7 separate regions of the Homo sapiens genome follow, and all the other regions are linked to region 1. The links are contacts of gene promoters, found by promoter capture Hi-C in blood cells and fetal thymus (Javierre and others, 2016). All regions are on one chromosome and are shown on one strand. The core of a region is centred on a gene start or on the middle of the fragment in contact, and the rest is flanking DNA. Distances in the headings are between cores, read along the strand shown.

Evidence for each region. The method cuts DNA at HindIII sites, captures the fragments that hold promoters and counts their contacts. A CHiCAGO score of 5 or more calls a contact.
Region 2: a fragment that was not itself captured here is called in contact with the fragment with the promoter of CCDC82 in region 1 in 6 of 17 cell types (total B cells, naive B cells, monocytes and 3 more); the score reaches 12.4 in total B cells.
Region 3: a contact is called between a fragment that was not itself captured here and the fragment with the promoter of CCDC82 in region 1, in 3 of 17 cell types (naive B cells, total B cells and erythroblasts). The highest score is 8.0, in naive B cells.
Region 4: a contact is called between a fragment that was not itself captured here and the fragment with the promoter of CCDC82 in region 1, in 4 of 17 cell types (erythroblasts, fetal thymus, non-activated CD4 T cells and 1 more). The highest score is 9.2, in erythroblasts.
Region 5: a contact is called between a fragment that was not itself captured here and the fragment with the promoter of CCDC82 in region 1, in 1 of 17 cell types (erythroblasts). The highest score is 5.8, in erythroblasts.
Region 6: a fragment that was not itself captured here is called in contact with the fragment with the promoter of CCDC82 in region 1 in 1 of 17 cell types (fetal thymus); the score reaches 5.3 in fetal thymus.
Region 7: a fragment that was not itself captured here is called in contact with the fragment with the promoter of CCDC82 in region 1 in 2 of 17 cell types (neutrophils and fetal thymus); the score reaches 7.2 in neutrophils.

The regions. Positions count from the first base shown.
Region 1 is chr11:96,388,662-96,393,054 of GRCh38, forward strand. It overlaps CCDC82 (coiled-coil domain containing 82), which reads right to left and starts at 1,251. Exons shown (of 10, transcript NM_024725.4): 1 at 1,183-1,251. It overlaps JRKL (JRK like), which reads left to right and starts at 1,352. Exons shown (of 2, transcript NM_001261833.2): 1 at 1,352-1,412; 2 at 1,822-4,393. The coding sequence starts at 1,989. The coding sequence ends at 3,563. RefSeq lists a silencer at 1,165-1,424. The HindIII fragment of the contact is 1,223 bases long and covers 809-2,031 here.
Region 2 is chr11:95,091,844-95,096,236 of GRCh38, forward strand. The region is part of intron 1 of ENDOD1 (endonuclease domain containing 1); the gene reads left to right. Among named protein-coding and RNA genes, the nearest start is that of ENDOD1, 4.2 kb to the left of the region's middle. RefSeq lists an enhancer at 1,082-1,376 and a silencer at 1,082-1,376. The HindIII fragment of the contact is 2,475 bases long and covers 1,907-4,381 here.
Region 3 is chr11:95,137,779-95,142,171 of GRCh38, forward strand. No RefSeq gene overlaps it. Among named protein-coding and RNA genes, the nearest start is that of LNCRNA-IUR, 11 kb to the right of the region's middle. The HindIII fragment of the contact is 1,203 bases long and covers 1,321-2,523 here.
Region 4 is chr11:95,156,225-95,160,617 of GRCh38, forward strand. It overlaps LNCRNA-IUR (lncRNA imatinib upregulated), which reads left to right. Exons shown (of 3, transcript NR_110303.1): 2 at 1,404-1,579; 3 at 2,385-2,924. Among named protein-coding and RNA genes, the nearest start is that of LNCRNA-IUR, 7.9 kb to the left of the region's middle. The HindIII fragment of the contact is 3,496 bases long and covers 682-4,177 here.
Region 5 is chr11:95,175,074-95,179,466 of GRCh38, forward strand. It overlaps SESN3 (sestrin 3), which reads right to left. Exons shown (of 10, transcript NM_144665.4): 7 at 3,637-3,755; 8 at 2,646-2,836; 9 at 425-569. Among named protein-coding and RNA genes, the nearest start is that of LNCRNA-IUR, 27 kb to the left of the region's middle. The HindIII fragment of the contact is 579 bases long and covers 1,620-2,198 here.
Region 6 is chr11:95,222,560-95,226,952 of GRCh38, forward strand. The region is part of intron 1 of SESN3 (sestrin 3); the gene reads right to left. Among named protein-coding and RNA genes, the nearest start is that of SESN3, 6.4 kb to the right of the region's middle. The HindIII fragment of the contact is 304 bases long and covers 2,164-2,467 here.
Region 7 is chr11:95,239,275-95,243,667 of GRCh38, forward strand. No RefSeq gene overlaps it. Among named protein-coding and RNA genes, the nearest start is that of SESN3, 10 kb to the left of the region's middle. The HindIII fragment of the contact is 8,404 bases long and covers 1-4,393 here.

The DNA.
Region 1 (4,393 bases), core at 1-2,500:
CTCAAGAAAAGATTCATTCTAGAAATCACCTACTTGCTGTATAAACAATGCAGGTGGTAGTTAACACTTTACAGATTTGAAAGGCAGTGGAACCCCAGGTCATTATTTGAAATTCTACCAGGAGGGATCCATTCTTGGGTGTAAAACATCACTCCTCTTCGATGTTTTCTTTTATATGGCAGTTTGGAGAGCAAAGATTAATAAGCCGAAAAATAATTATTGAATATCTACCAAAATGCAAGCACCTGCTAGGAACTGTGCTGCCACCATTTCAAATAAACATGGTCTCTGCTCCCAAGGAGCTCACAATCTGATGAAATTACTAGGGACACCAAAAACAAGCCAGCATAATACACGATTTGAGGGCTACAGTGTATGATTAAGATCAAGTTCTTATCACACTGCTATGAATAAATTTATCATAGTTCTTCTATTGGCAGGAAAACAAGACAGAACATGACAGAAATAGGATATAAGAAAATAAACATAAAGAGAGGAAAGCCTATTTCCCCCACTTAGAATCACAGTCCAACAGTCCACAATTTCGCAAAGTGGATCCTGCCAGCATGGTATCCGGGATAACTATATTATTCATTAAAATCCGTTAACAATGAAGGTTAATGCAGCAGGAATGAGTGGTAGACAGTGGAATAGATCCTCTCAGGAATTAACACCCGGAAGGGTGACTTTCATGATTACAAACCTCTTTGGCGGGACGCAGGAACCCAGCGCCCGCTAGCCCACTAGTCCGTCACTCTGCCTCCAGGAGGGAGGGGCACAGTAGCTAGGAAACCGGACCCTCAGGCCAAGCTTCGCGATGACGCGCGCAGGACGACGGAAACCCCCAGACCCCAAAAGAGCTCTGCACCGAGAAAACAATTACAAGGGTCTGGAAAGGCCAGAAACCCGAGAAATCACCAACCGAGCTCCCTACATCAGTTCCAAGCACCTCCCCAAGGCGGAAATAACGGGCACCGCGCCCACTGCAGCTCAGCTGAGGAGGGTTAGAGGCGCAAAGGGCTGAGGGGCGTTCTCCGGCCCACCCAAAGAGCGCCCGCGGGAATTTTTCTCTTAGTCCGCGAGGAGGCACGGCTTCCCCCGCCCCTCTCATAAACCATTAGCACCGGGAGCGCGAGCGAGTCCCAGCCGGGAGACAGCCCCGCACCGCCCTCGCGCTCTCACCTTTCAAAGCGCCTCCACCTCTGCCTCCGCCTCCGCCCCTGCCCCGGCAACCAGCTCAGGACAAGCGATGCTCCTCCCCCCCTTCCGGGGACCAAGGGAAGTCCCGCCTCTGGGTGGGGCGAGGGGTGGGGCCAGGCGGCGGGAGGGATCATCTTCCGGGAGCGTGGCTAGGGGCGGAGCGACTGCCGCGCGATAGTCAGGGAGCTGTGCGGGTCCTGGTTGCAAGAGAGGTGGGGAGAGGGGCCTGGCGGGTTTTGAGGGACTGGGAGGACTGTCCCGGCTAAAGCTGGCGCGGGAAACTGGGGCTGCGCGGCGGGAGGGCCCTGCTGCTGGGGAAGGAATCTAATATATCCGTTCCCCTGAGGAAGGGTGCCAGTCCTTGACTCCTAGGCTCTTCGGCTCTCTGTCGTAACTTTGGGGTGTGGCAGGGGTTAGTGACGCGCGGTTACCCGGGATCTGGACGTGCAGGAGGTTCGTGGCCACAATGGGGGTATAGTCTTTCTCACGGCTGCTGGGGTAATAAAACACATGCTTTTAATCCGGATTATCCGCGGTGACATGGGGCCTCCGCTACTGCCCGTATAAGTTAAAGAAAGGCCTGTTCTCTCAAACTTCCTCCTCTTTCACCTTCTTCTGCAGTCTATTTGCCAGCCAACCCCAGCCCGGGAGGGGATCAGGGCCACCAGGTTGCTGGTAAGGATGAAAGACTGAGTGTGTTAAGACTGTTGAAGTGAGCCTGTGTAAGAGAAGGAAGGATTTTGTGGATTGCTACATTGTGAGTGTGGGGTGAGTCCCAGAACCTCGCTATGTCAGGGAAACGGAAGCGTGTGGTGTTGACTATTAAAGATAAGCTTGATATAATAAAGAAACTTGAAGACGGAGGTTCTTCCAAACAACTGGCAGTGATTTATGGAATTGGTGAAACAACAGTTCGGGATATAAGAAAAAATAAGGAAAAGATTATAACTTATGCAAGCAGTTCTGATTCCACAAGTCTTTTGGCCAAGAGGAAATCTATGAAGCCATCCATGTATGAGGAATTGGACAGGGCAATGCTGGAATGGTTCAACCAGCAAAGAGCAAAAGGGAATCCCATATCTGGACCAATTTGTGCAAAAAGGGCAGAGTTCTTCTTTTATGCTTTGGGAATGGATGGTGATTTTAACCCCTCTGCCGGTTGGCTAACTCGTTTTAAGCAGCGGCACAGCATTAGAGAGATTAACATTAGAAATGAAAGATTAAATGGAGATGAGACTGCGGTGGAAGATTTTTGTAATAACTTTCGAGATTTTATTGAACGAGAGAATTTACAGCCTGAACAAATCTACAATGCAGATGAAACTGGACTCTTTTGGAAGTGCTTGCCTTCTAGGATTTCAGTAATCAAAGGTAAATGCACTGTCCCTGGGCACAAATCAATTGAAGAAAGAGTCACAATCATGTGTTGTGCCAATGCAACAGGTTTACACAAACTTAAACTTTGTGTTGTGGGGAAAGCAAAGAAACCTCGCTCCTTTAAATCAACTGACACCTTAAACCTGCCAGTCTCTTATTTCAGCCAAAAAGGTGCATGGATGGATCTTTCCATTTTCCGACAATGGTTTGATAAAATTTTTGTGCCGCAAGTTCGAGAGTATTTAAGATCTAAAGGCTTGCAGGAAAAGGCTGTGCTCTTGTTGGATAATTCACCAACACATCCAAATGAAAATGTCCTAAGGTCAGATGATGGCCAAATATTTGCTAAATATTTACCACCTAATGTGGCCTCATTGATTCAGCCTTCAGATCAGGGAGTCATAGCAACGATGAAGAGAAATTATCGTGCAGGTCTTCTCCAGAACAACTTGGAAGAAGGTAATGACCTGAAATCATTCTGGAAGAAGCTAACTCTGTTGGATGCACTTTATGAAATAGCAATGGCATGGAACTTAGTAAAACCAGTTACCATTAGCAGAGCATGGAAGAAGATTCTCCCTATGGTAGAGGAGAAAGAGAGCCTGGACTTTGATGTTGAAGATATTTCTGTGGCTACTGTGGCTGCCATTTTACAACACACCAAAGGATTGGAAAATGTGACTACTGAGAACCTTGAAAAATGGCTTGAAGTAGACAGTACTGAACCAGGCTATGAAGTGTTAACTGATAGCGAAATCATCAGAAGAGCACAAGGCCAGGCAGATGAATCCAGTGAAAATGAGGAGGAGGAAATAGAACTAATTCCAGAGAAACATATTAATCATGCAGCTGCCCTCCAGTGGACTGAAAATTTATTGGATTATCTAGAACAACAAGGTGATATGATTCTACCTGATAGACTGGTAATACGTAAACTTCGAGCCACCATCAGAAATAAACAGAAGATGACAAAGTCAAGTCAATAATGTCATTTCAATTTTATTGTTCTGCTCATTGTGTTTGTGACAAACTCTTTGCAATATGGCTTAATTTTCTTTGTGTTCTGAATTCTCAGACTTGGTCCTGTGAAATACAGGCACAAAATGTATCTGAAGTGGTTTGAGGATTATGTGTTTTCATCATCTGTGTCTTTTGTCCTTTTATTTGTACAGATAATCAGAAGATGATACTGAATAGATATAAATTACATGTACACATGTATTCACTTTTTAGAATCTGCAATTATACCTTCTGTAACAGTGGCATTCCCTTAATTTTCTAGTGAAAGTTAGAGATAACTGAACAGACTGAAGCACTTTTCTGAAATCTTTTGCTTGATTTATGAAGGCTGCCATAGTTATCTTTTCTTGTGTTAACCATCTTAAATGATGTTTTGTATATTTTAATAGACTGATAGGATGAGAAAGATTTATATTATTAGATTTCAGGATGATTTATAATAATTCAAAAATGAAATTCAATAATGGGGAAATAATTATGAATTATAGAAATTATGCCTTCATTCTCTTACATTTGTGTGGGTTGCAAGAGGGGGAGATTATTCTGGAAATGAAGTAAATATGGGAAGTTATTGCCAAATGAGAGAGAAACTATGGGAAAGCTGATCTATAAAGAGGCATTCTGATCAATTCATTTGTAGGAAACTGGGAAATAAAAACCTGGGGAACTTTAGGTTATTTATACAAAGGGAATAAATAGGCTGATTTTAATTTGGTAAGTTGATCTTTTTATTATGAATTTGGTAATAGTATAGGTTTATTATTTATTCATCTAATTTTATAGTACAGGTTTTGTA
Region 2 (4,393 bases), core at 1,894-4,393, 1.3 Mb before region 1:
TGGGTTCATATCCTAGTTGCTCCACTGACTAGCTATGAACTTGGGCAGGTTAAATTGGAGATAATAGCATAGGGTGGTGTGAAGATTTAATGAGTTACCATATATAAAGTTCTCAGGTGTGTGACACATGAGTACTAAGTACTAGCTGTTGCTATGACCTAAGCAAAAAACCATAATTTAATAAAGGTGAACAAAGTCCTATTAGATTTAATCTGTCTTTGAGGTGATGGAAGCAAGCCTTAGGGTCAGGATGACATTTCTGCTGTGTGTGGAAAGATAAGGCAGAGTTTAGAAGGGAGGCAAGGAGGAGGACATTTCAAGCAGAGGGAACAAACATCATGAGTGAGAAAGGCATGGCAGATTCAGGGATTTGTGCGTGAAGAAGTTGGAACAGGTAAACTAATACAAATAGATGAATGCACTCAATTGCTCAGAATAAAAAGGAATCATGGAAGGGAGGGATCAGGTGGGGAGGAGCCACCAAGGAAGGCTTAGGGAGGCAGAGCCATTTATGCAGCTAGGGAAGGAGTGAGTCGTAAAGGAGCATAGTTTGACAGAAAGAAGTACAGGGAACCAGGTAACATGGAGACCCTGGGTGAGATAATGAGGAAGGGGACTGTGGAGATTAAAGAAGATGGGAAGGGAGGGTGGAAATAGTTACAAATGGCAGCTTGAGAGGTAAGATGTACAGCGGTTCTGAAGAGTACAAGGGGCCTGAGTTCCTGCTGTGCTGAGAGGTCAGAATGGTCACTGTGGCTGAGCACTGCAGGATGCTTTTCCCTGCAAGGTGGCTGGCCTCCCACATCCACCCGCTCGACCTCAAGTCAAGTCAGCCAGGATCCAGAGAGTATTGGGAGAGAGGGAGGGAGGAGGAGGTGTGAGGTGCAGCTGGGCCTGGAGTGCACTGCAGCAAACCTGCCCCCACTGTTGCCTGCTCCCTGAGGCCCTGCCTCCCAGCCAAGATCCCCACTGCAGAAAGATGCTCAGGGCTCAATGTGTACCCTTGGCGGCTTCCAAGCATTTTATAATGCTGAGTCTCCTTGTACCCACATCACCTTTTTATGAGGTCAGTGTTACCAAGAGGACCCGCACACAGGGGAGGAAGAGGCAGGAGACCAAAGGAACTCAGTGCTTGCCTCCAGTGATGAGTCAGGCAGGGCAGCAGTGACACTGAATTCCCAAAGCCCAGTTCGGCAGCTTTTGAGTCCACACTGCAGTTTCCCTTTGAAAAGAATCTCCTAAGTCAAAGATCACAGAAACTTAGTCACTCTTGTGCTGAAAATCTGTAAAGTGTTGCCTGCCCAGCCCCTACAGGACAAAGTTCACACTGCAGAATGCAGTTTACAGGCTCTCCATAGCCTAGCTCCTGTCTCCAGCTCCAATCTAGTTTCTCACCATGCTCCACCCTCATATTTTATGTTCTAGCATTATCCAGCTGCCTGGAGTTCCTCTCATAAACCAGACTGTTTGTGATGTCTGTTTCTTAGCTCATGCTGATTCCCTTTGCCCAAATTCCCTTTCTACACAGACCCCATCTTATCCTTCACTTCCTGCCCTTACTCCATCCTTTAAGACTCTGCTGAGGTGTCACCTCCTCCAGAAAGAATTCCCCACCTGAACTGTATCCACCTCCCAAGTTAGGTTCACCCCTTCAGTGCTCTTATAGTTTTTCTATTTTCATACTTACCATGTTGTTTTGTAATTATCTGCTTATGTATCTGTCTCCCCAACTTGAGCCCTTGAGGAATGATGATTGCATCTTACTCATTCTTTTCCTAGTGCCCAGCTTATAGAAAGCACGCGATAAGTGTTGAATAAAATAATTTGATGTTGGGAGGATCAATCAGGCAGGAGCAGGTGAGATGTTCTGCTTCAGTTTTCTCAGTGGGGCGCTTCCTGTTTCAGAAGCTTGCACCAGGGCTGGCCAGCAGCAACTGTTACAAACATGCTCCCTATGCAGAGCTGGAACCCTGCTCTGCAGCCACTCCATCAGTCTTAGCTTTGGCCTTTGAAACTATCCCAAATGATTTTGATCTCTGCTCTGCCTACAGGAGATGGTTTGGAGGAGTTCTAGTCAAGACTCCAGAAACCTGAGAACTGGATTCTGGTTTAGTGCAGGAAGCCTCAAACCTTTTAGTTTGTTGACTCCTTTCCACTTAATGGAAGAATTTTTAGATAAGATGCCAATGATACCTTTCTAAAGTGCATTGCTGATTTATGCCAGAAGCCAACATATAAAGCTCTATCATTTTATAAACATGGAAGGAACTGAATATATAAATTATATAATTAATATATTATACATATTAATTATATAATATATAATTTATATATTCAGTAACAATAGTGTATATTTGTTCAATCTTAAAAAATACTGTGAGGTAGATATTATCTTCATTGTAGAAAGGAGGAAACTGGCTAAGGGAGGTTAACTGAGGTGTTTTAGGGTCACACAGCTTATTTTTGAACTCATTACTGATTACTCTTCTGATACACTGTGGAGATTCTTTGATCTCACAATGGATCCACTGCGCTAATGGTCTTAGGACTCTAATTTTCATCTTTTATGTGAGAATTCTAATTTCTACTCCACTTCTATTTTCTGACAGTCATAGGACAAGTGGGAGCACTTACTTGGCTGCATAAAGGTTGCTCAAGTGTCACTTTACTCTGGAATGAAGGGGATATTCTGGTTAACTGCAAAAACATTTTCCTGGAGGGCACAGTGAGGTCTTACTTCAGATCTTAGTAAATGCAAATGGTTGTTTCAAGTTAGAACCTTGATTAAGTCCTTGATTTTTAATTTCCATCCATGGCTTATACAACCTGAAACAGAAATACTGTTCAATTTGTTCCAACCTCAGCCTTCTTTTCATTGTGTCAGAGAACAGATATATAGAGCATCATACACTTAAATCTCTGTGTAAGGAATGCAGTGAACAGGACAATCCTGATTCTTACTCCTTAATTAAGAGACTTAATTCAGATCCCTGCTCTTCCATTTACAAGCTATGTGACTTCCAGCCCCATTTTTTGGATCTGTTCATTAAAGGTTGTAAAAGTGTTTATAGAGAGGTTGTGACAAATAAACAAGATAACACATGAGAGCATGTGGCATGGTACCTGGAATATGGTAAACTCTTAGTAAATATTAATATGTATATAAGGTGTTACTTCAGTAGGTGCTAGGCGTGTGCACGCACACACACACACACACACACACACACAAATGGAATGTTGGATTAGATAGGTGACATCTACAATTCTGCAAATCTCTCCTAAAAAGTAAAATATCTATCCATGTATCTTCTCAAATGCTTGGTGTATGTCCCACATTCATACAGTAGCTGCTTCATAAATGCATGATGAGAGATGAAATGTGTGGAAGATTGAATGAATGGATGGAGGGTGGATTTGAGTGATTAAAAGCAAAAACAAACCAAACAGGTACCAAAGACATCTCCACCCTCTCTGTCCTGGAAAACCAAGAAGTGTGTTGTCAGAAAACAGTGAGCAATGGCATTCCAGTCTATTGTGCTGAGACTGGATAAGACTGGGAAGTGCCTGACCCAGGGGATGGTTCCAACCTTTGTTGAATTTTTCCCTTCTGGCTTTTTCTTCATCTTTGGATTTAGTGTTTCCTTTTGTTTTGCAGGCCATTCTCAGGATCAAGTTAAGGTATTTACCTGCGTTGGCAGAATATTTCAGGGACATCTGTCCTGAAGCAGTCCAGTGGTGACAATTCCCTATACTATTCTTTCAGTTTAGACTTATATCTGGACAATCTAGGCAAGGAACTATCATTTATTGATCCCTTACCATGTCAAAGGTCTTCACATTCTAACTCATCTCATCTCTATAACAACTCTAGGTATTATGACTTGTGTTTTATAGTTTAGGAAACTGAGGTTCGGAGTAGTTAAGTAACTTATCCAAGGTCAAACAGCTTCTAGATGGCAAAACCTGGACAGGAGTTTATGACTGCCCAAATCCAAAGCTCTTAACTCTCTTTATTCTCTATCACACTATTTTCTAACTAAAATGTTAGTTTTTTCTCTCCAGAATCCAAACTGGCTGACTAGACTTGTTATTTTATTTTTAATCCAGTTCTTTGGATGGTTTATGGTTTCACTACTAACATACCATTCTGTATGTAAATGCCAGCTTCAGATTTCTTTTAGCTCCGTTACTGGTGATTCATGGTGATTGAATGGAGCTTTCCTTAGGGAATTGAGATTTTATTCTTTGGGCATAAAATTTCTCTTCCTTTTAAACTCTCATCTCTGAAAGTGAAAATTTTAGAAAGTAAATCCTCTTATTTGCCAGTAGCATTTGTTTTCAGTTATCTGGTCTATCTTCTAGAATTACTGTTAGTCAAGAAAGCTTTTTTTTT
Region 3 (4,393 bases), core at 672-3,171, 1.3 Mb before region 1:
TATTTCTTCATACACTGTGAAGCACAGGGAGCTCTGAATATTCACCCTGATGGTCTCATATCTGGAGGAGGAAAGCTCCTGTGTTAGTTCTGGCTGGGAGAATCCCCAGGAAGGTTTCTTTTTCCTAGTTGGGTACATGCAATCCTTGAGTCAATCACTGTGGCTGAGTGAGTGCAATAAGATGATTGACCCAGACTGGATTATGGATCCATATGATGGTGTTGGTAGTTCTCATAGGAAGGACAGAGGAGAGGAAGCAAGATAGACATCCGCAGTAGTCCCTCATAGACTGACTTACAGCTTTATTTAAGACGTATAATGATGCCCTTTCAATTTATTAGGTGGCTTTTAACTTGCAAAGCTCTTTCATGTTTATCAGTGGACTGCATCAGAACCACAGATGTGTTTGGTTTCTCTTAAAAACAGAAGCTATGGCCAGCATTTCCTCAAGGCCATAACAAGCTACAGCTGAGTAGACAGGGCCAGCATCCTACAGTTTGTCATAGTCTCCATGGTGTCTCTATTGCCTCTCTGACCTGATCCACTTTGCTCATTTAACTTACTTACCTGGCTCCTGTAGCCTTTTGGGTTTGCTGATCCCCGATGTGATCTCACGTCATTCACATCTATTCTGTGAACACTGATTATTCCCATTTTATTTTAAACCAAGATTCAGAGATTCAACTGACTTTCCTATGGTCACACAATTAGAAGGTGAGACCCAGAACCTAGATTTTAGAGATGAAGGCTGTTCAGTCCCCTGCACACGGTTGTAAGTTATGCAGAGGTTTCATATCTGCTATGTGAAGGGAGCCCTCTAGGGTTGTGTAGTCAATACTATATGTGGAAGCCCTGAGGCTATTTTCCCTTCCATTTCACCATAGTCATAATACTGTCACAAAGTTAGTTGAAATAATGCACTTCCTTCAAAATTTATTGTAGAACAAGTACTCGTGACTAAGTAAAATGATAAATGATCAGATTGGAACAAATAATTCAGTTAATTATATCACTAAGTCTTACCAGAGACAATAGTAAAACTTGTCTGACTTATGCAAATAATATAGTTAGGTCTGCAGTGGAGAACTCGCTCTGTAATGTCCACAACTATTTTAGGAGTGATTTTACTGTCTTGAAATTTTTCTTGCTATACAAATAACCTTAATCTCCCAGTTTCCGTGTGATTAAAATGAGAGGTTTGCACTCAGTTTTCTAGTGAGACAATGATGCTTAATCCTGATTGCACGTTAGAATTGCCGGGGAGGTTTTATTGATTTTTTTAACTAATGTTAGGGTCCCATCTCTAGTGGTTTTAAAATAAGCTTCAATAAAGAAGATATACAAATAGCAAAAAGTACATGAAAAGATGCTCAACCCCATTAGTCATTACAGAAATTCAACTTAAAATCACAATGAGATCAACTGTACTCACTATATAGTATAAAGTAGACCCATGCAAGGATGGCGAGGATGTGCAGCAACGGAGCTCTCATTTAATATTAGTGGAAATGTAAAGTGGCACAACCACTTTGGAAAGCTGTTTAGAAGTATCTTAAAATGATAAACTTACGTCCACCATATGATTCAGGCTTTCCACTCCTAGGTATTGATCCAAGAGAAAAGACAACATACATCAATACAAAGACATACCATGCAATGTGCATGTTCGGAGCAACTTTATTTGTAACAGTCCACAACCGGGAAAAAAAAAACCAAATGTCCAGCATCAGTTGAATAAACTATGGTATAACCATAAATGAATGCTATTTACCAATAAAAAGGAACTGACATATATAACCACATGGGTAAATCTCAAAAAAATTATGCTGAGTTAAAGAAGCCAGACGAAAGACAACATATGATATGATTCCATTTGTAAAAAATTCTAGAAATGTAAATTAATCTATAGTGACAAAAAGCAGATCTGTTTTCTTGGTGATGGGATGGGGAAGTAGGGGAAAGATTACAAAGGGCATGAGGAAACTTTATGAGATATTGTATATGTTCATTATCTTGATTATAGTGAAGAGTCAGGATGTATATTTATGTCACTGTGCATCAAATTGATTGTTAAATATGTGCAGTTTATTGTATATCAATTATACCTCAATACAACTGTAAACAACAATACTGATGCCTAGCTCTCAGTCACAAAGATTCTGATTTAATTGGTTTAGGTGGGGCCTTGGCATCTGTAAATATTAAAAACATCACCTATGATTCTATTGTACAGCCAGGGTTGGTTCTGTGATTTTAGATCATTATAACTGCCCTGGGCCAGGTAGTTTGGGAGAAACCTCCCGCACTTTTTAACTAGAGCAAAAGGGGATCACCCACACAAGAGCTGCTGCTCATGCATGCAAAGTGCTCCAGTCAATCACCTCAGTGTTCAAGGCTCAGACCTGGCCTCTAGAAGATGGAGCTACTTGGCCTTTCACAGAGCATGAGCCCCCTCCATCCCTGCCATCTATCCATCTACTCCAGCTGGCTTAATGCCCTCTTGAGACTCCATTTTCCCTTCAAAGCTTCCTCTGGTGAGCATGTCAATGATATGTAAACTATATAAAGATGTCAGTGTGTATGTGTAGAAATAGTGTGACTTGCTCCAGGCAGACATCTCCTAATAACACCTGTCGGTATACCTTGGGCAGGATAAGACACTGACATCAGCTGCTTAAAGGCAGCAAACTGCAGATCCCGAATCCTGAAATGTGGAGGAGAAATGCTCCCCACTCTGGTGGTCCCAGTGATGGCAGCAAAACTTGACCAATAGGGGGCTGCCCCTTTTGGTAAATGGTCTTTCTACTCCACCCTGAGACACAGCGAGAAAGATCTTGTTACAAATTCTACTCCACTTCTTAGTAAGTTAAGCTAGTCACTTAAGCTCGTTTTCCCTTTATTTCCTCACTTCTAAAATAGAGATAACATAATCTTCCTTGTTTACCATAACAGGGTTATTGTGGGGATCAAATGAGAAAATGAATGTGATCATGCCCTATAAACACAAAGGCATTATTATGTACCATGATTATCCTAGTGTTTTATAGAAGGGAGCAGTAAAGGCATAGACTCACTTGGTGGGAAACTGGATGAGCCTCCTGGAGTCTGAGTGGGTGTGAGGAATGACATCATTGCAGTCTCCAGAAACTGGACTTGCTGTTTCCATGACTTGAGTAATATCATAATCATGATGATAAGGATATCTACAAAGAATTGTACACTTAGGTCTAGACACTGTAATAAATTGTACATCTATTTTTTTCTGAGCTTACAGAGGAGGGCACTGAGGCTTAGAGAGGTTAACTACCTTGTCCAGAGTCACACAGCCAGTAACTGGACTTGGGTCTTGACATACCAAAGTCCTGCTCCAGAACCCACAGCAATAACCAAATGAGCCTTCTCCTACAAGGGAATGACTCTCAGCTCAGTATTTTAATAAATGACTTAGGTGCTTTTTGCAGGTATTCTCAATCTCAAAGCAGGCAAAGCTCTGCTAGGAGACAGGTGCTTTGTTCTAGAATTTTCTGTGCTATCTGAATATGACAGAGGGTGTTTATGATTGAGTTTTCCATGCAGATGTTTTTCCTTAGCTTCTAAAAACAAACCTAGTGAAATAAGAGTAGGGTTATCAGGTAGGTTGCAGAACCTAGGGTGATCTGCCTTGTAGAGTTTGTGGTTAATATTCATTTGTTGAACCTTCATGCCCACCAGCCTGTATATTAGGCACAAAGAGTAGACCAAAAACATAGTCATGTACCTGCTACTACAGTGCTTGTACCAAATGCCTACATACTGTGGCTGGGGAGGTTAGAAGACTGATAAGCAAATAATATGGTAGACAAAGAACTAATGTCCTTAATATATACATAGAGCTCACAAAAATGCCTAAGAAGAATGCTTTCACCATTGTGTTGTTGTTATATAAAGTCACAGTTTATCTTTTTGAAGAGAATGAGTTTATAGAAAGGCAGATTAGGAATGCAATCTTTCCCATGTGACATCCTTTCTTTATATGTATTTTTATTGTCAGAAAAATAATTTCATGGGCAAAGGGTTTCAAAATATGAGTTCTCATTTTGAGAAGGGAAAATGCGAAGTTGCTACAAAAAAACTTATCTTTAAGAAAGAATTCAGATTTATAAATGCATTCAGCCACTCTGACTAGAGGTGAGGTTGTAGAATGGGGGTGTCTTATCTGTTGCACTCCCTGGCCTGAAATACCATTTCAGTGCTCAACTCCTGGCTTCCCTGAGTAATTCCAGCCCCCATTTGAGAGGTTTGATTTCATAGGACTGTGGAGAGTCTCTTTCAGGAAAACAAAGATCGAGCAATGCTGATCACAAGCTGCTGGAGCTGGATCCCCTCTAAGGGGCATGCCCAGGGAGTCTCATAG
Region 4 (4,393 bases), core at 1,180-3,679, 1.2 Mb before region 1:
ACACTCACACATCCATAGCCATCAGTGAGTCTGGCTTCTAATCTGAAACCTGGGCTAAACCAAACCACTTGGCCTGGAATTGGAGGCCCCTGATTGGCCTTTCTGCCCTTCACTCTCACCACTCTCCACCATGGGCCCTCCCATCTCTCCTCCACCAGCTCATCATGGATGGCCTCCCTAACCCATAGCCGTCTTCTTACCATGCCAGTCTCACAGGCCACTCAAGTCCACAGTGATCTTTCCCTTTCCATGGTCAATTTTGGCTCCTCTCTGTCCCAGGGACACGTTTAGCGGTCACATCATTTTTCTCTCCAACACCCGAAAGGGAATACAGGAAGTGACTTTGAGAGGCCCTTACCATATGCCAAGTCCCCTAAAAAGATCTTTGCTTATTTTTGTTCCCTCTCTCCTTAGTGAGATGGTGAAGTACTCAAGGGTAACAACCCTGTCTCATACGATTCCAAATGGTATATTGAGCTTTGCTATAACATCCATGCTCAATATATACTTTCTTACTGACAGGTCCAAGAGTGTACAAACTCATGAACTCAATGACCGCAGACTGGAAGTAAAATCACAAACCAGTGCTTCCCCCACCCCCACCCTTCCTTGGTACACCCCTGTCACCTCCCAATTCTGGCTTCAAGCATTTTTCAAGTCTGAGGCTTTAGCCCAAATTTAAGCTTTGGCTTAAATAACGTCTATTTTTTTTTTTTCCAGAGCTGATAAGAACTTACATTTAAAAGATGGTTCTTTTTTTGGTCTCAGTCCTGCTGGGTAGTTGTGCCTTGTTAGAAAATTATCCATAGCACTTTCAAAGTCCTCCTCATGAGCATGTTGAACTGAGCCAGACTTGGAGCTTTGAATGGAATGCCATTTAATCTTGGCAAAGGTCCACCTTTTGTTTCTAAGGAGGGAAAAAGCCTAAGGAACATGGGTGACTTAGGGACCGTTTGCACTTAGACCTGATCTGCTGGGGAAAGGTTCGGAATCCTGGAAATACACAAATTAGACACTGAGCTGGGAAAAAGAAAGAGACAAGCACTGGCCAGGCAACCTTCAGTTTTGCTAACGCCAAAGATTTTAAAAATATCATCCCCTTCTTAGGATTCCTTGGCCTGCCTAGCTATGTTCTGGCTGAGATGTGCTGAGCCGGGCTGGGCTGCCGGCTCCGGGACTGGTTTGTAGCCAGCTGTGCCTTCAAAGAGCTCTCTCTTCAAGACTTCCTCCAACTCTAGATTCCACAACTGCCTCCAGGAGCTGCTGGGCCAGGGAGGGCCCTTCTGGAAGCCTGGTTGCCTTTTGAATTCTGTTTTTACTCTTTTTTTTCTTTATAAACAGATTCTCTTCATTTCAGTGGGAAAAGGTGTCGTGACAGATCCATGTCTCTATTTTACCCTTAGGCCTCAAACTTCTTCATGGGAAAAGATGGCTTCTCTTTTTTAATTGAATGAACTAGAAGAAGTTCATTGTTATTCATCAACTTCAAAGAGACTATATGAGGCCCCTTGGCCAGGACTACAGAGCAGTATTTTTTAATCAGAAATTATAGCCAAAAAGAAGAGACCAGAACACATGGGTGAGTGTTACTGAATTATTGGTTTTCCTTAAATAGTCTAGTTTTGGTGTGTGAGAGGAAGAAAGTTGCAAGTGCTTATGTGCCAGGTACTGTGCTAGGATCTGAGGATGCAGAAATGAAGAAAATGCAATCCCTGGCCCTCCCACCTGTTGGGGGAAGTGGACTTCGCACCCTGTGGATAAGGAGTACACAGTGTAGCACTGTGGTTAGAAGCACCAGCTCTGTCATCACAGGGCTTGGCTTGTTTCCTGGCTCTGCTGTGGGCTGTGTGGCATTGGGCAAGTTACTTAGCTTCTCTGTGCATTATGTTTTGCATCCTAAAAATGGGGTTAGTGATAAAATCTGTGTTATATGGTTCCTGTGGGGATTTAGTGAGTTAAAATAGTTAAAGTACTTAAGCTCAGTGCTTAGCACTTTGAGTGTTTATTACTATCGTTGAGAAGATGTAGAGGAAGTATATGGGCATAGAGAGCAAGGTGCAGCTGACTGCTTAGGTGAGGCAGGGGATGCTTCAAAGAGGAGGTGACATTTGCTTTGCACTCTGAAAGATGAGTGGGAGTTCAGTAGACGAGGGTGGTGTGAGGGAACCCAGGCAGTGGGAAGCGTGGTCGGGGCAGAGAGAAGGTGATGGCTGGAAGCAGTAGCAGAAAGGCCAGTGTGGCTGCAGCCTGGGACTCTCATGTGGCTTGGGGGAAGGGAGTAAAATCACAGGCTGAGTCTGGAAAGGTGAGTTCAGGCTAGACTGAGAAAGGCTTTAAACTCCGTGTCATTAATTCATTCATATAACTCTATTATCCCCATAAAGATGAAGAAGGAAGGCATTAAAGATTATGTAATTTGCTGGGTGTGGTGGCTGACGCCTGTAATCCCAGCACTTTGGGAGGCAGAGGCTGGCGGATCACTTGAGGTCAGGAGTTCGAGACCAGCCTGGACAACATGGCAAAAACCTGTCTTTACTAAAAATACAAAAATTAGCCAGATGTGGTGGTGGGCGCCTGTAATCCCAGCTACTTGGGAGGCTGAGGCATGAGAATCGCTTGAACTCGGGAGGCAGATGTTGCAGTGAGCAGAGATGGCGCCACTGCACTCCTCCCTGGGCGACAAAGCAAGACTCCGTCTCAACATCACTGAACCAGTAGGGGGCAGAGCTGGAAGTTGAGCCTAGGTGTGTCTGACTCCACAGCCTACGCCCCGAACCTTGACTTTGTGCTTTCTCACAATGCCTATGGCTGCTGCTTTAAAACAGCACTTTCCATTTGCCTTGTTAAATGGGATTGTATATGAATTATACTTCACTGTTTATTTCTAGAGAAATAAAAGAATCTAATAAAGGAATCTGACACGGACCTTGGGTGAATAAATATACCCTTAGGCTGGAGTGTATTTCAGATAGCTTGGTTAGGGAACTTGCGTGGTATCCCCAAGGCTCAGGCCCTGAGAAGGCATGGCCACCTGATACCCTGGTTCCTTTAGCACAAAATCCTCATGATAACCTCAGTTCGCATTTCTTTGAAATCTGCTTGGCAGAGCTGTGGGATACCTGAAACTCTCTGGGTCATTTTGCTTTGATCAAGGGCTTTGCTGTTATAGGGGCAGTCTCAGATCAGGTGGTGGAGGTCATCAGGCCTTGGCGAAAAGCCCAAACATCTTCCAATGGGACCAGGCCCTGTGATAGCATCTTTCCAACCCATTAATGGTCAGCTGGGCTTTTTTGTTGTGTGTCCATTCTGAAGTTCCTCACTCCCTTCTTTTCAGAGACACTCACTGCTCAAGGACACTTATTCTTTAGGTTCCAGGCACCTCCTGGGAAGTAACTGGGGAGAGAAGAACAGGGCTACAGTGGGAAAGCAGACCACAGGTGCCAGGCAATTTCCTTTCTCCAAACACTTCCCTGGGGACAGCTGCCACTCATAAGCATCCTAATGCAGATCCACAAAGAACTCTTCCCTGCCCCACAATTCATTTTTTTTTTTTTTAGACAGTCTTGTTCTGTCACCCAGGCTGGAGTACAGTGGTGCAATCTTGGCTCATTGCAACCTCCACCTCCCAGGTTCCAGAGATTCTCCTGCCTCAGCCTCCTGTGTAGCTTGGATTACAGGTATGCACCACCACGCCTGGCTAATTTTTGTATTTTTAGTAGAGACAGGGTTTCACCATGTTGGTCAGGCTGGTCTCAAACTCCTGACCTCAGGTGATCCACCCACCTCGGCCTCCCAAAGTGCTGGGATTACAGGCATGAGCCACTGTGCCCAGCCCACAATTCATTCTTATTCTCTGTCTTTCCCTTTATAATGCTGACTACAATTTGTAGTTTTATAATTTCGTGGTTTTCTTGCTTACTATCCACCTTCTCACTCCCCTGACTGTGAGCTCCATATGGCAGGGGCCACATCCATTTTATTTCCTGTTGTAGCCAGCATTGAGGACCGGGGTGGCAGATGGTCTTTTTTCCTGCAACTCTGGCAGTTCCTTTTCTCTCTCCTTCATCCCCACTAGTGCATTCTCCTCTTCCTGGCCTTTAAGCGTTGGGATCCCTCAAGACTGGCTCTTTGGTTACCTTTATCTCTCGCTTTTTCCTAAACCCTCACCCAGGTATAAAGCTTCAATTAGTCTACCTGACATCTTTGCAGATCTTAAAGGCATCTCAGATTCCCAAGTTATCAAGGCAATACACATGATCTTTTCCCTAGAACTTGGCTCCTTCCCAGTGTTCTGTGAGTAAATGGCTGCATCAGGCAGCAATATGGGCAAGACAGGAACGAAGGAGTCATCCTGACGCCTCCTTATTGTTTACCCTCCCTGCAAGCCAATCAC
Region 5 (4,393 bases), core at 659-3,158, 1.2 Mb before region 1:
ACGGTTTCTGCTGGGCACAGTGGCTCCTGCCTGTAATCCCAGCACTTTGGGAAGCCGAGGTGGGCAGATCACCTGAGGTCAGGAGTTTGAGACCAGTCTGACTAACATGGTGAAACCCCACCTCTACTAAAAATACAAAAATTAGCCAGGCGTGGTGGCAGGCACCTGTAATCTCAGCTACTCGGGAGGGTGAGGCAGAAGAATCACTTGAACCCGGGAAGTGGAGGTTGCAGTGAGCTGAGATCGTGCCACTGCATTCCAGCCTGGCAAACAAACAAGCAAAAAAACCCCAGATAGCTAGATGATGCCACTTCCATGTCAATGGCTATAATTTATTAATACTTTCATGTGTCATTTTTCATAACTATTACTTCTTGTACTGAAGAACTGTCTATGGTATAATGCTTAATACTGAAACACGTACTTTTTCTGAGTGTTTGAACTGCCGCCAGTAACTATCATACATGCGTTTTGTAGTTCTCTCAGGATAGCAGGTCACTGTCTTAATGTAAACCTTCAGGCTTCTTTCAAGTAATTGATTAACTTCTCCATAATCATAGTCATCATACCTACGAGCAATACAACAATAGCTTTATAATGACAAAATCAAAATATTTAGTTTCCAAAGTTATACTAAGGACATTTATTGTCTAGTAATTAAATACTAAAAGCTCGTTAATTAATTGAATCAACAAATGTTTACTGAGTACCCATTATGTGCCATGAGTACTCAGTAGTAGTGATATACTAGTGAACAAAACAGACAAAAATCCTTGGTCTCATGGAGCTTAAATTTTGTTGAAGAAAAAACGAAGAAAAATTAAAAAGATAAACACATTGTAGTCAGATGGTGATAACTGCCATGGAGAGGAAATGGAACTTGGTCTGGGAGGAGAGGAGTTGTTATTTTAAATAGGGTGGGCAGGAAGGCTTCTCTGAAAGCCTTGATATTTGAACAAATACCAGATGGTGGTAAAGAAGCAAGTGTAAAGGACTTGAGGTAGGAGTCAAGTGTTTCAGGGAAGAGCAAGTAATCACTGAGTCCCATGCTGCCAAATAGTCAAATAAGATAACTGGGAACTGACCACTGGAAGTAGCTATATGGAGGTCACTAGCAACCTCGGTAAGAGCAGTTTTGTTGGTTGATAGGGACAAAAGCCTGATACTGTGAATAGGTTCAAGAGAGAATGGGAGATAAGAAAATAGTGACAGTAAATATACACAATTTTGTCAGAGATTTGCTTCGCACGAAAGCAGAAAATGAGGCAGTAGCCAGATGGAAATGAAAGGTGAAACTGAAATTTTCTTTAAAGATGGGAGAAATTAAGTGTGTTTCAATGCTGATGGGAAAGATCCAAAATGGGAGTAAAGCTGATTATGCTGGAGAGAGAAGGGAGCATTGCTAGAACTGAGATCTTTAGAAAATGAGAAATGGGATTTTGTGCATAAGTGTATAGGAACATAGACAGTAATGACAGCAGAGTAAATGGGCACAGATGTAGACAGGTAGGTAAATGTAGTATTGGGAACTTGTGGAATTTCTCTGTTACATTTTCAGTTAATTTTTAACCCATATAATGCTTAGTTTAATAAAAAGAGTATCTTGATGCATTTATGTAAGCTTTATTTTGTAGCATCCAACAGATATATTCACCACATTTGTTGCCTTGTATCCAATACATATTTATTGCATTTAAATTGAGTTTTATCGGTGTTTATTTTTCTTAAGTAGGTAGATATGATATATATGTGTTTTAAAATGTATTGATTCTTTGATAACATTGTCTAGCATGGTAAATGGACAAATAGCTCAGTTATTACATACAACCATAATCTATTACATGGAATATCGTGTTATTAGGCGATTTATCAGTAAATTTTGGGGTTCTTCAGCTAAAATTATAGAAAATACTTTGCTTAACCGATTAAATTCTAATTATCATAAAGTCTGTCTGATATATATCTATATAGTCAAGTTGAATAATTTGTAACTGGAAAGTTTTTCTGTCTGCTAATCTATTTCCATAAAAGCCTCAAAACCACAACTCAAAAAGGCACATTCTCCAAAAAGTGCTTTCTTGATTAGACTATTCAATCTCATGTACTTACTGTCCTCTCAATGCTAATTTTCTAAATTTAGAGGTCATTAATTTATATTGGCTGATATATTTAATTTCAGTGTTATGTGACCTTATGTAAGCTTATGAAGGCACAACCTAGTACAGTTTTGTTTATACCGTAATTACCATTCCTTAAAAAATAAGTTTTAAAAAGACCAAACTAACTAAACAAACCAGAATTTATTATAGTGATCTAAAGGGACACTACACCTGTTTTTTTAAAACTCACCTGTTCTTCCAGGAAGGATTCTCAAATTTGGTCTAATTCTATCCTATCCCCAATCATTACTGATGCTTTTTTCCCTCAGTAAATTTTTACCACTATATTTACATGTGCATCAATGTTAAGATTCATAACACTTAAAGAAAAATGCTTCTCCATAAAATGAAATTAATTTTTAAAATCAGAAGTCTACATGTAATATTTTCTTCCCAGAGTCATATACTCCCAAACAGGACAAAAATAAGACTCATGCTTGAATTTTCACTTAGAAATGTAAAAAACTGTCTCTACAATGAACATACCTGATTCCAAACATACAGTGAACATAGTTAAATAAAGCTCTGCGCAGCATGGTTGTGTCAACATCCTCATGGGTGGCCATAGTGTTATATGTGAGATTGTAGACCATCCGAAACTTTTCATCAAGAAGATGTCCAATGTCAGAATAAAGTCTGTTCACCAGGGAGAACCCATGATTTTCCCAGGTATAGTCCTAAAAGAATAAAATGTATTTAATTACAAAGTGGGCATTTTCCATCTAAATTCTATGTATTATTAAATATAACTAATGAAGCAAGTAAGCGAGGCTATTTCTAATTTAGCTCTAGGTTTTCAGCTTTACTAAGGCTTTACCAATAACCCTTCACATCAGTTAGTAGATCAGAGTGTCTGGATGTTTCTTCATGGGGTATGGGATTTGCCATGTTAGTGATGAACTCTGGTCATCTCCTACACTCAGGTACTACGCACACTATCCTTTTATCTGGAAGGGCCCCAGGAGATCTTGGAATATTCCCATGTGAACAAACCTACCCAGTGACATGGACAGTTAGCAGATCATCTAAAATAACCATGAATGAGTTTGTCATAATTCAATCTTATACCCTCTTTAGGAGTCATATCACTGCTGTGGCTATTTCCTAGGGGTGAATATTAGAGTAGCCCTTAAGCCCATGACTACTGGTATATGATTTTATTCCAAGAAAAAGTGATGTCACTTGTTTTCCTCTCTGTTCCCCCTCAAAAAAATGGTATAAACATTATGCAAATACCACGTAATAATAGAAGTAAGTGAATAAAGCAGACTGTTTCCTTTTGTCTTCTTAGGGAGAAAAATGTTGAAATAATTATCCATCTATTGGGAACTCCAATTAGATTAGGCTGAAACTAGGTTAAATACAAAGATTTATAGATTCTATCAAAAATTGTTTAGTGCCAATTTTTAAAATTTAAACACTTAACAGTTAAAATGACAGTATGTTCTAGTTTCTCTGAATTAAAGACATATTATACCTGAGCTCGGAATGTTGGCAAATGCTCTTCTCCTCGTCTGGCAAAGTCTTCATACCCAAAACCAGGGTCTTCAATATATCGAGAGACATCAGATGTTATAATCATGTCATCCTCAAAATCTAAGGACAATAATGAACAATCTAGTGTTAAGGATACTGTACGTGGTTATGACAATAAAACGGAACTCCATTTTCTTCCACTTTTTAGCTTTTCCATGGATTTCTAAAGTGAAAACATGGACTCCGTGACTTTATATAAAATATCTACTGCTAAAGTTTTAAATATAATTTCATTACCAAATACTGGCAATCTTACCATTTAACTAGTTTTCCTAACTGTTAGTTTGACTAACTGAAATATCTAAACAGTAGTAGCAAAGGATCAATATGCTAGTTTTACTAATTTAGGAATGGAAGATAGCATAGGCCTATAAGTATAAAGCTTAACCAGTTTTTTTTTTTTTGAGACAGAGTCTTGCTCTGTCGCCCTGGCTGGAGTGCAGTGGCGCGATCTTAGCTCACTGCAACCTCTGCCTCCTGGGTTCAAGCGATTCTTCTGCCTCAGCCTCCCGAGTAGCTGGGACTACAGGTGTGTGCCACCATGCTCAGCTAATTTTTTGTATTTTTAGTAGAGACAGGGTTTTGCCATATTGGCCAGGCTGGTCTCGAACTCCTGACCTCGTGATCCACCCACCTTGGCCTCCCGAAGTGCAGCTTAACCATTTTTTTGGTTTTGTTTTTATCTCTCCAGGGGATGA
Region 6 (4,393 bases), core at 1,066-3,565, 1.2 Mb before region 1:
CAAAATCCTATTTTGCTAACAATAAACTCTCCATTAACTAGATCCCAAATAAGAGGCAACCTAGTAGGAGAAAGGTTTATGTAATTGTTAATTATAATTCAGTATGCTAAGTGCAATAAATGCAGTGCAATTGAATATCATGGCAGTCCAGAGGATAGAAGGAGAAGGAAGAGTTGGAAGATTAGAAAAGGCTTTTTGGAAATGTCGTCAGACTTTTGAAGAACAGTCTTTCTTCAGATTTTTGAAAGACAAATAGGAATTCTATATGGTAACTACAGGTTTAGGTTATATAGGATATATATTTTAAATTGTTTAAATCACACAGGTTTAAGGAAACTGTTATGGGGACACATGACTAAACGTTTTGACTTGGTAGTGTATTTACTTTATATAGTGAATTCCACTTCCTCCCCGCCATCTGTACTCCTACCACAGTGATGTCTAAGGGACAAGTTAGATACAGCTAGTCACTTATAGGTCTCAGCAGATCTAATCAGACAGAGTAAATAGGCCCTTATGCTTATGCCTTCAAGACCACACTGAATGCAGGTAGTTGCTGGCTGTCATAGCTTTTGTGTATAGTGTACCACAATCCCCCCAACCCCACCCCCGCAAACCCACCACACACACACAATAGAAAGTCCACTATACCTTTGAGGATTTATTTAGGAACTCCCACATTCAAACAATGCTTGTTATCAGTACCCTGCATTAATAGTTCTGTCTCTTCTCTCTCTTTTCTTGTTCCTTCTGCTGCTGCTTCCCCCACACTTCTCAGCTTTCAAGCCAAACAGACTAACCTTGCTACTCAGGGTCCTTCTTTCCCTTGTAGCCAAGAACCAATCAATTTGGTATAATGGACATAATTTTTGGATTTGACCTTTCTTCAGCTGTTGCACAGTACTAAAGGAGAATATTCCTTCAAAGTGAAGGAACTTTGTTTTTTTCCCTCCCTGGTTTATATCAGAAAAAAGATGCTCATGAAAATTAGGGAAAGATCATTTCTAGTTAGCCAGTTACTGTGGTAATAGAGAAGCTTCTAGGATGTCACTGAAAAGGTGGTAGACAGCATCTGCAAGTGATACACACACCAAACAGAGGTAACTGAGTTGACTTTATCAATATTTTCTGTCAGTGGTATTAAGCTTTTTATTTTCCCCATAGAATTACACCATATACTGGCATCAGTAGTAACTCTGGCTCAGTAGTTCGTAAATGTCTTGGTCCTGGAACCCCTTCATAAATGTCTTGGTCCTGGAACCCCTTCGCACTCTTAAAAATTATTGGGGACCCCAAAGAGCCTTTGTTTATGTGTGGGTTATAACTGCCCATATTTACTGTATTAGAAATTAAACCCGAGAAAACTCTGAAATGTTTAATTCATTTAAAATAGTAATAAAATCTATTACAAAATAATATAAATCACATATTTTTTGGAATAATTGTATTTTCCAAAACATAAAAAGTGAGAAGAGTGACATTTACATTTTGCAAATCTCTTTAATGTCTATTTAATACAAGACAGCTGAATTTTCCCCAATCTGTTGTGATGTGTTTTGATTGAACTATGCGTGAAAAATCGAACCTGACATAGCTACATAGTTGGAAAAAGAAGATAAGTGTGAATATTTTTCTTTGATACCACACTAAAACTCAACAAGTATTCTTCTTAAAGGTTAATTGCAATGTATCTGAAATCATATCCATGACCTCAACAGTTTATATCATATTAAAATCCACTTGTACATTTTGCGGTTTAAATGGATTTTACCCATATATGATTCTGATAAACATTTCCTCAAAAATAAGCAAAATGATCCTGAAAACTAGAGGAAAACAACTGACAACAATCATTGTCAGTGATAAAAAGAATGGTCAGATCCAAAGATTACCTTGTCCATTATGCTCTAATTGGCTGCTCTTGGCTGAAAAGGAAAGAAAGACCCCAATTAATAATGTCTTTCTCTGTTGGTCAATTGAAAAATATTGGCTCAATGAGTTATGTAAATCTTTCAAATACTGACAAATTTTATTGCAGATTATCAAAAAGTTACATCCACTAATATCATACTTGATCTCAAGGGGACAGCCTTTAAGAACCAGGAAGCTTTAAGGCTACTGGTGACAGATACATATTTTCAAAAATTCTAATTTTTCCCTGAAAGCTTGAATTTTATCACTGGCAGCAAATAGTGTCAATTAGTTTCCTTGAATTTTCAGGGTCATACTACTCATTTATAAGATAATGTTTATCAAATGCCCAGGTCTGAGTAACCAAAGTTTGTCTGACAGGTGTTATTTCAAGTAAAAATGGGGTTACATGAAAAAAGTGGCTAGTTCAGCTTGCAACTAAAACAACTGCACAAGTTTTCTCCTTGAGCCAACCAGTTTGCTATGCAATGGATGCACTTTATACGCATTCCATTTTGTCATACGGGGTATTAAAAAGATGCACACAAAAAGGTCAAGCTTTAACAAAATTTAAATTTTCACTGCTTCTTCAAGGACATTCAGTGATATTGAAATTTTTTCCCCATTGTTCAATGTGCAGTGGTAAAGAACACAGTGATAACGGTTTGGTGCCACTAACCTGATTAATACTAAGGGGCTAGCATAGTTTTACCCCCACTGCTTTTGCTCTCAGTGAAGAAGGCAAATAAAGTCTTTGTATAATTATGAACACAGTTTTGACCTCTCAGGCCTTTTGAAAGGGTTTTGGACCCACAGGGATCCAAGGACCATACTTTGAGAACTGCTGCTTTATCTTATTAAGGAATTAGCCAAACAACTGTTAGAGAGATAAAAGTGACCAGCTTACTCTTCTCCTACTCCTTCAGTTAATCTACAATAGTATTTAAAGTATGGCTAACTTTCATGTTTCCAACCAATATTACCTGGAGAATCTTCGGTATCTTTGGGCATTCCACAGATGGTGAAGCTGGGAGTAGGGATATTCCCTAGCAGCCTCAATATTGCAGAGGACAATTAGAAACAGCTTATTACAAAGGCAGTATTAAGAATTAAATGGATTTCTTTGTTATTAGTTGTATGACTGAGACCAGGCCACTTAAATCTTCTCAGTTTGTGAGAATCAACTGAAATAATGTGAAAGCACCCTAAAAACTGTGAAGGTCAATACACACTTAAGTTATTATAATCCAAATATTTCAAAGGAAGAAAATGAAAAGGCTGAAGAGATGGGGAGAAAAGGTTAAAAGACTTTTACTTCCATCTCTTCTCCTAAACTAATTAAAAATTTTTGCTTTACCCTAGATTTACCACCCCCCCTTTTATTAAGCACAATTTTCCTTAACTCTTAGTCTTTTCAAACTAAATACCAATTCCCCTTATTTGCTGAAGTGTCAAGGAGGCAATTTAATTATTCGAGAATCAAAAGTCAATGCCTTGCTATTTAAGTGCAGGGGTGGGAAAGGGGCAGGGAATACAGACAGAAATATGGAAATCAAAAATAAGTAAAAAAAAAAAAAAAAGTCATTCTGACTAAAAGCATAATCTTTACCTCTCATTTACAGGCAATAATTAAACAGGACAGAAAAGTGAGTATTAACCAAATTACTCAGTATGTATTGAAATATATTCCCATAAGACGGAAAGAACTAACATAGTCTGGGAAAATGGAAAAATATATGGACTTGTCCTTTTCTTTCTTACACGGTTTATAAAGTTCATTAACACACATCTATCTCTCTCCAACTATACAGCAATCTGTAAGGCAAGTAAAAATTATCAACATTTTACAGAGAAAACTCTGCTTTGAAATCAAAAGATCTGTTAAAGACCTAACTGCAACCACATCTGTGGCTTCCAGTATCACTACATTAGTAGTTATGTTTTCTATTTATTTAGGGTGGGGAGTTGGGGGAAGCAGCAGAACACTTTTTACAAATTAAATCTTCTATTGAACCTGAACTATAAAGCATATAAATATACCAAGCAACTTTCAAGTATTTTAGTAATAAAGTTACAACTACTGATAACAATAAATTTGTGTTCTCACAAGTAAACATTTAACTTAAGTAAATATGGAAGGAATTCTTTTTAAAAAGCCAGTTCCTTCACAATCAATGACAATCTTTCTCATACATGACACAGTAACAAAAAAAAATTCAAATATCTGTACAAAGATAGCAGAACAAATTGTAATTCAAGACCTGCACAAGAATAATTTTGTAATGAAAGATAATGGTGTTAGACTCCAGTTATTAAAATTATGTGTACATATTTGGGGGTACCCATATTTTTAAATTACAGTTTTAAAATAAGTTAAAACATACTTAAAAATTTAATGCAACTCAAGCATTTTAAAACCCCAAAGAATCTTAAGGGTCCATACGAAGCAGTTTGAAAACCATTGCATAAAGGTTTGCCATCA
Region 7 (4,393 bases), core at 1,310-3,809, 1.1 Mb before region 1:
GAAAGGGACCTCTGAATAGAATAATTTATACTTCTACTTTCAGATCTTCTGGATGTGACTATGGCATATCTAGACTTTGAGCATCTTTAGGGACAAGACTGATTCATCTGAATATTTCTAGTACTTGGAATCTAAGAGGTGCTCAAAAAAACTCATTGGATGACATGATTAGATATATTAGAGTTTGTTAGCTAGAAATCAAGTGAACAGATTATTTTAATCAAAAAATTCCCAATGTCTTAAAATTGTAAATATATTTTTATACAAAGGTAAAATTTGCCTTATGAGCCAGAAGACACATTCACAAAGTGTATGTGAATGATAGCAACAAAGACAGCAATTTCAAAGATGAAATGTCTTGAGATGATGCATTCTCACATGAATTGCAAACTTGGAATCACAGCAGCAACTTTTGAGATTCTGGAAGGCTGCAAAATTGGAAAATTATGCTTTGAAATATATGCTGTCCAGATAATCCTTTATTTAGTCATTTATTTATTGAACCCTTACCAAGTAGTAAGTCCTGGTGATAAAAGTAACAAAGGACAGGCTTATAATCTAATAGTGAGACTGAAGTATAATCTCTGCATTGTTACAGAAGATGAATAGAAAATGGAGAATAGAATGTAAAAAGGGTTATCAGCAGAGTCCAGAAAGATCTTTTGAGCATTTATGCCTATAACTGGATACATCTCAGTGGTAGTGTTGAAGACATATGATACAGAACTCTTGCTGTGTTTCGATGCAATGTACAATGTCAACAGGAAGACAGGATTAACCCCTATAAATACCAGAGAACAATACAAAACAGTGTATGATGAAATCACCTCCTAATTCCATGTTCATTAATTCACTCATTCATGCGTTCAAGCACTCCATGTTTGTGGAGTGCTTACTATGTGCCAGCCACTTGACTAGTCGTGGAGATAGAGTGATGAACATAAGAGTTAGAATTTATAACCTAGCAGAGAAGATGGACTTTAAACAAATAATCCCAGTGTGTAATGAGTGTTATAGTAGGGAAAAACACAGGAAGGGAACACAAAGCAGGGTGATCAAACCTGGTCTATGTCTCCCCTGGTCTAGGCCTTCCCCGAGGAAGTGAAATGTTAACCCAAGAAGTGGTCTGCCTCCTGGTTTCCAACAGCAACTCCCAGAGACTCCCCTTAGTAGGTCCTTTCCCAGTGTTTCAGTTCCCCATTTTAATATAGTTCATGCTCCAATTGCAAAACTCCTATGTATCCTGGCTTTTTACATTGCAGTAGGCAAACTTCCATGAGGGGTGCAAATCTTCCTTTCTTTTCTGAGGGGCACTATCCCTATTAAAAATTCACCAAAATTTTAATCTATTTTTCCGAATTAAATAATATCACTTTATTATCTAACATTTAGCATTTCACACTTAGCCCCCACCCTGTTGATTTCCATTTGTATATGTGCAAGTGATATGTGTGCACAATTTCTAACAAGTACATCGATATTATCTGTCTTAAGACAGTAAAGTACTTGAAGATAACCATCATATTTCTAATCCATATTCTGTAATCCCCGTAACCTTCATGGTAGTGATGATAATCATCATAGATATGGTAATAGAAGCAACCACTATCATTTTCTGAGTACTTAGTATGTGCCAATAATTATTCAATAACCTACATAAATTATTTTGCCTAATACTTATAAAACGTCTATGAAGTAGCTATTATTATCTCTATTTAAATGTGATTTATAGGGACTGAAAATTTGGTCAAGGTCACACAAGGTAGAGCTCTGATTTGAACCCAGATCTGCTTGATGCCACCAGGATTTACAGTGTTATAAAATCATGCTTTGGCATTATTCAGTTAGTCATTTTTATAAATATTCTTTGAACTAATTATCTGTGTTAGGTTACCAAACAATAAGGTCCACTAGATTAAATCTCTCATACATTTACCAAATATAGCTCACTGGACACCTATTGAAATAAATGCTATGAGAATAGGCAAACACATACCCATTATTCTCTATTCTAGTATTTTATTACCCACTGGCATATTACGTGAAAAATATTTGGGTGATCTTTGGATAAGAAAACTACCTTTGTTGGCACCCAAGTCAAAATTCCAAATGTTCTGAGATATAAGTCTGAAGATTCCTAGGCACTTGGCTAGTCACGGAGATAAAGTGATGGACATGATGAAGATAAAGTTGATAAAATTAACAATTAAGGGTAGAGGAAGGAGGTGCTGTTGGTACTTTCACATGCTATATCAAGACAAGTACAGGTCTATTGCAATAAGCTGGGATTAGATTCTCTAGAAATAAGATGAATAAACTGGTTTCCACATAACCTGCCAGCAAATTCAAGATGTTCATATCAACCTGTCTTATCCACAGCCTCCTCTAAGTAAATCTTTCTGCTGGTGGCCTTATTCTAAATAATTATGCTCTGTACTATGTGAGTCAACCGAGGAATAGACGCTTGACTCAAAGACAGTCATTCCGTAACCTAGCCATCCATCTGTATGGACTAGCTCAAAATGATAATCTGAGCCAATCAGATTCCTTTCTTGGAGATTTGGCATCAGGAAACTATGATACTAAGCCAGTTGGCAGCAAAGTCAGATTGTAAGAGGATGTCATGAACCATATGCAAACTAAAACGAAGAAGGAACAGAACGGATAGGAAGTAAAGGGTGAGGAAGCTGGGAGGGGTAGGAGGAGGGGGCAAGGCACAGAAAGAAAGCAAAGAAGCTAAGACACTGGTATTTAGAGTTCCTTAAATCCTGGTGTGTTTCCACTTCCAGTCCTTGTGTATCTCTGTAATAATTTCCTTCACCGATCTAATCTCCTCCCACTGCTGATTTTGTGAAGTAACTTAATTCTGTTTCTTTCATCCAAAAGAGACTGACGGAAATAATCTTCCTTCATTTCCACGTCAAGCACTTATACATATGAAATATTACCCTTAGTTCTCATTAGTAAATGGATGTGAAAGTCAGGACATTCCAAAAGAAAGAACTAGAACTCACTCGGCCAGAAAACCCCCATTTCAGTTTTTACACAGAAAAATTCTTACAGTCTATGTTTCACTAAGAATGTCTGCTGTGCAAAACCCTCAAACTTTTTAGAACGTTTTTTTTGTTCCAAGTTAGAGAACGGCAATCAGTAATCTATTACCCAAAGTGCTTCTCCTTTCCAGGTTTCATGTTAGAGTGATTCTAATATGTGTGTGCTATCAACTGCCTACACAGAAAACTGAGAGACAAAGGCTTTCTCCTTTTCCACACATTATCCTTCATTCAGACTTAATGCCTGCAGGTCCGGTTTAATGATTTCCCAGAGTTTATGAACGAAAAAGAAAAACAAAGCAATAAAAACAAAAATCAAAGTTAAATTTCCTCAAAAGTTTTCAAGAAGGAAGTAGTCAGGACAAAAACAAAGGGAATGAGGGCACTTTGTCTCAGGATACAAATTAAAGATCACTGTGGTGGCCTCTGTGGGGTGGTTATAAAGGGGACCAGGTGTATACTAGGAAGTCATTTAGTTTTAGAAATGTAAATATGTGTAAATGTTTTAATTTTACTCAACTTGCCAGAGGTAGAATGTCCCTGGACAACTAACTGATACATTTCTTTAGGGCCAATCGCTGGCTTTAGAAGAGCCTCAGCTAATCACAGTAGAGCTGGACTGTTGTGGTTTTCCATTCCTTTGCATCGTATTCCTCAGTCTCTGCGGAAGGCACTGCTCCTTCCTTTCCTTTCTAAATCTCTCTCTGTCTCTCTCTCTCTCTCTCTCTCTCTCGCTCTCTCCTCCCCTAGTTTATCCTGGACTCATGCTGAGCTCAGCAACCCTTGAACTCATTTTCTATCTGACATGTGAAATAGTTCTTAGGTTTCATTAAACATTTGGAAAATAAACGAGGTACTTCGCTCTGCCACTTTTCAGGTATGGTGAAGAAAATAAAATGGCCTCCCTGGGCAGTACTAGATGGGTTGTGGTTGTGCTGGCCTTGCTCTTGATGAGATAGCACTACTGTTATTTCTGTATATACCAGACCTGTCACTTTGCATTTTCTATTTCTCAGTGAAGACATGAACATCTAGACATTCCACATGTCTATGGGGAACTAGAGTGTCCAGGAATGGAAGCAAATGGAAACATTCTCATTATGCAAGTGTAACTTTAGCTGTGACCTAAAATGTATTGCCTAAGACTTCTATAAGGGTGAAATTGAAAATTTTCCATTTTTTTTAACCTCAATATTGTATAATCTAGTCACTGTTCAAAAACTCCTCAAACTTCATTTTTCATTACTTCATAGGGTTTTTTTGTGAGGATTAAATTAAAAGACATATGTAAAGCACTGAGAACAGTGTCTCCCCTATCATTAGTACTCAGTAAATGTTAG